2 separate regions of the Homo sapiens genome follow, and region 1 is linked to region 2. Evidence: promoter capture Hi-C in human tissues and cell types (Jung and others, 2019). All regions are on one chromosome and are shown on one strand. The core of a region is centred on a gene start or on the middle of the fragment in contact, and the rest is flanking DNA. Distances in the headings are between cores, read along the strand shown.

Region 1 (3,728 bases), core at 757-3,256, 46 kb after region 2:
ACTGTATCATCTTCACATCTATATGCCTACCAGGGTGCCTTGAAAGTGCAGTAGCTTAATAAATGTTGTTTACTAAATGAACAAAGGAGTTTAAAGTTGATGTTGTAGCATTCAGATAGGCAGTGAGAGATGTGCGGGTAGAACTTCAGAGAAAGTTCAGGCCTAGTGAAGCCTAATTTGAGAAACAATGTTAGCTTTGAAAGAAAAGTGAAAGCACCAAGTTTACCCACCTTTTGAAATAGTATCAACATGTTATGGAAGTTTTAAGACTTAAGACATTATTATGTAACAATGTTTATAAAGTGAACAAAGGACATATTCTTTCTCACTGACTTCTTAGTTTCAAAATGTAGCAAGAATGAATAAACCAAGGTACAAGTTGAACAAGGTGCAGGCTCATCCTGTAATCCCTCATTATGCACAGCAGATAAGTTCCTAAAGTTCTGTTGATCTTTTATGTGTGTCTCTGTGTGTTGTGCATCATATTTTAAATATTTTCATTAAGGTAATCTGTAGTTTTTAAATAACCAAGAAGTTAATCTTTGTTGTATAAACGATCACTTTCCTTTTTTTTTTTTTTTGAGATGGAGTTTTGCTCTTGTTGCCCAGGTTGGAGTGCAATGGCGTGATCTCTGCTCACTGCAACCTCCACCTCCTGGGTTCAAGCAATTCTCCTGCCTCAGCCTCCCGAGTAGCTGGGATTACAGACATGCACTGCCACGCCCAGCTAATTTTGTATTTTTAGTAGAGACGGGGTTTCTCCATGTTGGTCAGGCTGGTCTCGAACTCCTGACCTCAGGTTATCTGCCCGCCTCCACCTCTCAAAGTGCTGGGATTACTCGCGTCAGCCACCGTGCCCAGCCCACTTTCTTTTAAGTATTAATTTTGTATATTGGGTTCTTTTTAAAAAGCACATTTTTATTTTCTTTAGCTGAGTTGATGGCTTCCGGAGAACTGGCATAGCTGCAGAATATGAGTAGTGTCCCAAGAAGAGTGCTTTGCCTTTGGCACAAGGATCAGAATAAAGGTGAATTGCTATTACATAGGGTTTTTCGGTAAAAGTCACTGAAAAGTAAGTAATGTTTTTGTTTTGGATATATGTTTCAAAGAGCATGCAATCTGGCGGGAACTGACAGTTTTGTGTTTGTTTTGTAGTAATAGTTTTTGTGTTTTGGCCATACTTTATTTACCACTGAATGCTCTCTGATTAAGGATGTTTTCAAAGCAGTACCTAAAATGTGAGCACTTAAATAAATGTACAGGGCATAGAAACATTTTTGCTAATATTGTTGCTTTGAGCATTCATGGTGATGCTCAAAGTTGAACAGTAATTTTAATAATTGTGAAGAAATTTAGAGAAAGAATCTCTGGACATATTTAAAGAATAATTCATTTTAATTATCTTTTGTCTTCTTATTTTTTTGCTTTAATAAGACAATTACCATTACCGAGTTTAAGGAAACCCTGTCTTTGTCTTAGGTTCATAGGAAGTTTAACTGTTACTGGATCATGCTTCATGCTGAAAAAGAAACTTAGTTTTTTACTCTTAACCAAGTAGAGCAAGCCCTGATAATATAATGAATGAGCAAATGTAGCTGTCAATTCATTTAGTGCAAAAGCAGGTAATGAACTAAATTGAGGCATTATGAAAAAGTTTATTATATTGGTTCTGCCAATTTTATGTCCTACATCTTTTATATAAAGCTTTTTAAAGAGGGTAATGTGTAAATTGAGTCTTGATTTTAGAGCCAGGAGAAGAAATTAAGGAGGGTTGGGGATGGGGAGAACACATAAAAATCCTCTAGACATGACCTCTGTGTATGCAAAGGTATAGTGGCATGAGAACATAGAGATTTTTGAGGAAATTATAAGTAATTCAGAAGGATTTGGGGGTTTTATTGGGAATAGACAGGTAAGCAGGGCCTGAGTCCTGAAGGGCCTCTACGTCACATTAGTGAGTTTAGATTTTATTGCGAGAACAAGTGGAGAGCTATTGAATGATATAAAGCAAGAGAGGGATATGATTTGATCTGCAGTTCATTATAAGGCTGTCTGAAAGGTGTATGGAGGTAGAATTTTTTTTTTTTTTTTTCTGAGACAGAGTCTGGCTCCAGGCTGGAGTGCAGTGGTATGATCTCGGCTCACTGCAGCCTCTGCCTCCCGGATTCCAGCGATTCTCTTGCCTCAGCCTCCCAAGTAGCTGGAATTACAGGCGCACGCCACCACACCTGGCTAATTTTTGTATTTTTGGTAGAGATGGGGTTTCACCATGTTGGCCAGGCTGGTCTCAAACTCCTGACCTCAGGTGATCTGCCCACCTCGGCCTCGCAAAGTGCTGGGATTACAGGCATCAGCCACAGCTCCCGATCTGTGGAGGCAGAATTGATGGGATTCTCCTGACTTTCCATCTCTAATCTAATACCAATAATTATCAAGAAGGAAGCCAAAGACAAGTCTTCTGTTTCTGGCATGGGAAACTGGAGTAGAAGAGTGATGTATTCTTTGTAGCACTGAGTGGCGGAGTGGAAAAAAGTCTCAAGGATGTATCCAACAATAAAGTCACAAATTATAATTGCAGAAAAAAGTATTACAGATATACATTGCTGGCTCAAGTTTCTGTAGCTCTGTAGCATTACTAGTTTGAGCCAAATGTCATGTTAACAGACAGTTCTATAAACATTAATGGACTCTATTACTTTGACGAATTCATATTACCCAGCACATTATACTAATATCTAAATCTGCCCATAGTAAGCACTTAAAAATTTTTGATGAGATGAGTGAATAATAATAGAGTACTTATGATACTTAACACCTTTAAACTCTCGAAAGTGTTTTCATATATCTTCTTTTATCTTCAGTTATTTGCCATACAGTAACCAGAGACCTCCAACTAGGGGCCCCCAAACTGTATCCTGCCTGTAGGTGAGTTTTGTTTGATTTGTAGCTGTTAAAAATAAATTTGAATTCATTGCCAACAATTAAAAATGGACAGTTTTACATAAACGTTTGGATGTCTTTATTTTCTTGAAAAGTTAGATGGTCTGGCAATGCTAGGTTCGCTATTTCTACATGGTAATAATTGGCTAGATTGGGTAGCAATTGTTCAAATTTTGCCTGCTTAAGTCATTTCTGTCACCTGCTAGCCCCTATAGATAGTTGAGTTAGTGACTCCTGTTAACATTGTATTTATTGAGGTCTTTGGAGAAAGAGGTATTATGGACATGGAATAAATTCAGAAAACAGACATTAATTCCATTAATATTAATTACTGCTGTCTGCTGAGTGCCTAGTATGTATTATTTCATTCTACAACACTAAAACATTTGCTATTCCTATTTTGTGGTTGAGAAAACTTATGGTTAAAGAAGGTAAGTTACAAATTAGTAAGTGATAGGGCTGGCTGGCTGCTGATTTCTAGACCTAGCATCATTTTCCTTTATATACTAGCCTTTCTGGCTTTTCTTGTTGAGCTGTTTAGGCAAAGGTAATGTTTAATTGTGTTTAATTTAGTAAATTATAAGCAAGAATCCACTTTAGAAGTAGTGTTTTTAAAGGTTTGAAATAGTATAAAATTTGAGTTCGCAATTTTAAATGATTGCATATTTATGTATGTAACACACTATTTGATAACATTCTTTGCTATAACTGTAATTTTATTTACTTGTTGACTTTTGCAAAAGCTAATTTGAAGAGTTTTACACATCCGATTATTGCTGTAAGTTTAA
Region 2 (3,695 bases), core at 950-3,449:
CTGTGTAGCCCTAGTTTTAAACTCCTGGCCTCAAGCAATCCTCCTGCCTGGGCTTCCCAAAGTGCTGGGATTACAGGCGTGAGCCATCATGCCCAGCCCCATCCCCACCTCTCTCTCTCTCTTAATCCTCTGTCTTCCTGTTTGCTCACCTAGGTCAGTCTCTCCTCTTCTCTTCCTTCTCCTCATCCCTTCTCCCCATCACCTCTTCCAGTTGGTTCCCTCTTTTGACTCCACTAATTCGCAATGGCTCTGAGTCTCATCTCCTTTGAGAATTTTGAGACTGTGGTCCAGAAGGGAGGACACTTGGGTTCAGAACTCAGTAGCATGCGTGTCCCTCTGCTCAGCCTCACTTTTCTCTGTATCCTAGGAGATTGACCAAACAAACTGCCCAGACAATGTGAGTTAGAACCTAGGTATTCTAGGTCTTGCTGTTTCCTCTGGTGTCTAATGGTAGAATGGGAAGGATGCCCACAGCTGATGCAGGTGCAATGAGAAGAGAAGGAACAAAGGGTTTGGGAGTGAGGGCACTGGGAAAAACACAGAGGATGACATCTGATAATAAGAAAGGTTGGTCTTAAATATTAACTCATAGACACATATATGGAGATCTTCAATGATATGGTAATTACCTCTCTAATACAGATACGAAAATAGGGACACAAAATGAGATGGGAAGTAGCCCAGAGCTGCAGAGCGCAATTTGGTCCTCAATTTCTAAGAGACTTCATGTCACCTAGAGATGGACTTTGGCAGAGTTACCAATGGCACCAAGGAGATTACAGTGGGATTCAGGGTGTCTCAGGTCTCTCTGAGGGGCAAGAAAGAAGAGAATCATTTTGTCTACTCCCTTGCTTCTGAGAAGGATTATGCCTAACCTGGTTCATATAGAGGACAAATTGGCTCTGGTCACAGGTCACAGAATGTTGGAGCTTGAAGGTTCTTTTTTTTTTTTTTTTTGAGACAGAGTCTCGCTGTCGCCCAGGCTGGAGTGCAGTGGTGCGATCTTGGCTCACTGCAGGCTCCGCCCCCCGGGGTTCACGCTATTCTCCTGCCTCAGCCTCCCGAGTAGCTGGGACTACAGGCACCCGCCACCCACCTCGCCCGGCTAATTTTTTGTATTTTCAGTAGAGACGGGGTTTCACCATGTTAGCCAGGATGGTCTCAATCTCCTGACCTCGTGATCCACCCGCCTCGGCCTCCCAAAGTGCTGGGATTACAGGTGTGAGCCACCGCGCCCGGCCAGTTCTTTTATAACACATCTAATCCAGACATTCCCAGCTACATCAATAGCCTCTGGAATGTCTTGAAATTGAGATCCTTAGCCCTACCCAAAAATCTACCAGATCAGAGTTACCCAGGGTGGGGCTCAATAATATATTTATTTTTAACAAGTACACTTGGTACACAGGCAAGTCTGGGAAACCCTAAACTCTCTCGTATCACAGATCTGGAAGTTGTGGCTCCAGGTCCCGTAGCTAGTTAATGGCACAGGCAGAACTAGAAGTAGGTTTTCTTACCAACGTAGCACTCTGGTGCACTAAGAAACTGCTCTGGCCCATGGAATAGGCAAAGAACAAGTTCTTTAGAGAACTTTCTAAGGGACTTTCATAACTCTCTCTATTACCAGGGATCTCTGATTCCCCATGGTTCTTGGCCAACCCCTATTTTGCAACCCTCAACAAACTGTTAATGAATCTATGCTAAAGCTTAGCTACTCCAATTTTTTCTTCCCTTATTGGGGGTGGAGTTCACCTCAGGAGTGGCTAGGGTTGGCACTTCTGGCCCTGCATAAGCTAAGAGGTACCTCATATAAAGGGCGACTGACACAGCCAGGAGGAAAGCTGTAAGGATAAAGGAGGATAAGCTAGAGAGAACCAGGAGGTGGGAGCCCTGTAGAGCTGTTGGGATGAGGAAAGGAGTCTAGGGTACAATTTAATCAGGGTGGATAAGCATCTAGAGGGCAGAGGTAGGGACTCAGGGAAGACAGAGCTTAGAGCAGAGGGTAGTCAGAGCTTCCAGATCCTTACCGTGGGCAGGAGAGCAGAATAGCAGTCCTGTGTTTCCTGTGTCTGTGAGCTGTGCCTCCCGAGCTCTGCGATGCTGTGGGATCAGGAAGCCCAGCCTGGCTCCTTTTCTCTTTTGCTCCCCTTGCACTGGCTTGTTTCCTCCCCTCTTCTACAGCAGCTGGCTGCTGTGACTGGCAAGTTATAGCCGGAGGGAAGCAGTAAGAAGGGGAGAGGTGTGAGCTCTCTCCAGTCCAGCCCATCCAACTCTTAAAGGCCCAGGACACTGGTCAATGTGAGGGAGTAGTGGGGGTGGGGTGGGGAGAGAAGGATTAAGGGCAGCACATCTCCAGGGAGGAGCCTGGCTGCCCTTCATCTTGATGCCAGCCCTCATTGACCCCAATCCCGCAGTAGCTCTCAAAGTGAAGGGAGTGTCCTCAGTTGCAGTGCTCTGTGAATCACTGCTTTTCATTCTGGTTCCTGCATGTAATACGGCTGTTTTTGCCCTTATTTAATCTGGCTCCTTTCCATAGTGTCTGTTTCCACTGGCCTGCTCCTGTATCTCTGAATCCTGCCTGCAGGGCACTCACTGTAGCTCCGTCCCACAGGAAAAGAAAGAAATAAGATGGGAAAAGAGGAAGACGAGGAGAAGGGGAGGACAGGAATGATGATAGAATGTAGAGGGACAGATAGGTTAGAATCTATGTATATTTTAGGCACTCATTAAATATTGAAAGAATGCATAGATGAACGTGTGAAACAGCTCATTTTTTTTTAAACATCCATTCGTTCCTCCTACAAGCATCTGTTCAGCACCTCTGGGTTATAAGTCATAGCCCTCAGAATGGAGGTAGCACCTTCAGGACATACATGCATGTTTATAAAGATGTGTGCAGAGATGAAGCATAGGCTCAGAGGGGAACTGTGTGAAATGGTGTAATTTTAAGTGTGCTGACGTCTGGCTGCCTATCATGGTTTCCACAAGCATCCCTCAACTGCCTAATATTTTACCATTAGTGATTATAGCTACATTTTTTAGTCCCATTAAAATAAAATCCTCCTAAGTGATTACTATAAAAGTCAGGATAGTGGTTACTGTTGGGAGGGGGAGGAATTGTGGTGAGATGGGACACAGAGGGGGCTTCTGGCATAGCTAGCTAAACTCTATTTCTAGTTCTAAGTGCTAACAAGGGTCTTCACTTAATAATTTATTAAGCTATACATTCTCTTGATATATTTTCTATATGTGTTTTTAAATTTATTTTTTTAGGTCTCATTTAAAATATCATATATCTGTGTTAACTTTTGAAGGCTTAATGATTTTAAATATACATATATGTATATGTATATGTGTGTGTGTGTATATATATATATATATATATTTTTTTTTTTTTTTTTTTTTTTTTTTGAGATAAGAGTCTCGCTGTTGCCCAGGCTGGAGTGCAATGGCGTGATCTTGGCTTACTGCAACCTCTACCTCCCGGGTTCAAGCAATTCTCCTGTCTCAGCCTCCTGAGTAGCTGGGATTACAGGTGCATGCCACCACCCCCAGCTACTTTTTTTTGTATTTTAGTAGAGACGGGGTTTCACCGTGTTGCCCAGGCTGGTCTTGAGCTCCTGAGCTCAGGCAATCCACCTGCCTTGGCCTCCCAAAGTGCTAGGATTACAGGCGTAAGCCACTGCACCCAGCCG

Evidence for each region. Contacts are between HindIII fragments. The study calls those that stand out against the background at their distance.
Region 1: a fragment that was not itself captured here is called in contact with the fragment with the promoter of PLCD4 in region 2 in 5 of the 25 tissues and cell types used here (aorta, bladder, heart left ventricle and 2 more).

What each region holds. Positions count from the first base shown.
Region 1 is chr2:218,560,017-218,563,744 of GRCh38, reverse strand. USP37 (ubiquitin specific peptidase 37) reads left to right here. Exons shown (of 26, transcript NM_020935.3): 2 at 932-1,072; 3 at 2,862-2,925. Among named protein-coding and RNA genes, the nearest start is that of USP37, 6.5 kb to the left of the region's middle. The HindIII fragment of the contact is 9,239 bases long and covers 1-3,728 here.
Region 2 is chr2:218,606,403-218,610,097 of GRCh38, reverse strand. It overlaps PLCD4 (phospholipase C delta 4), which reads right to left and starts at 2,199. Exons shown (of 16, transcript NM_032726.4): 1 at 2,028-2,199. The HindIII fragment of the contact is 15,744 bases long and covers 269-3,695 here.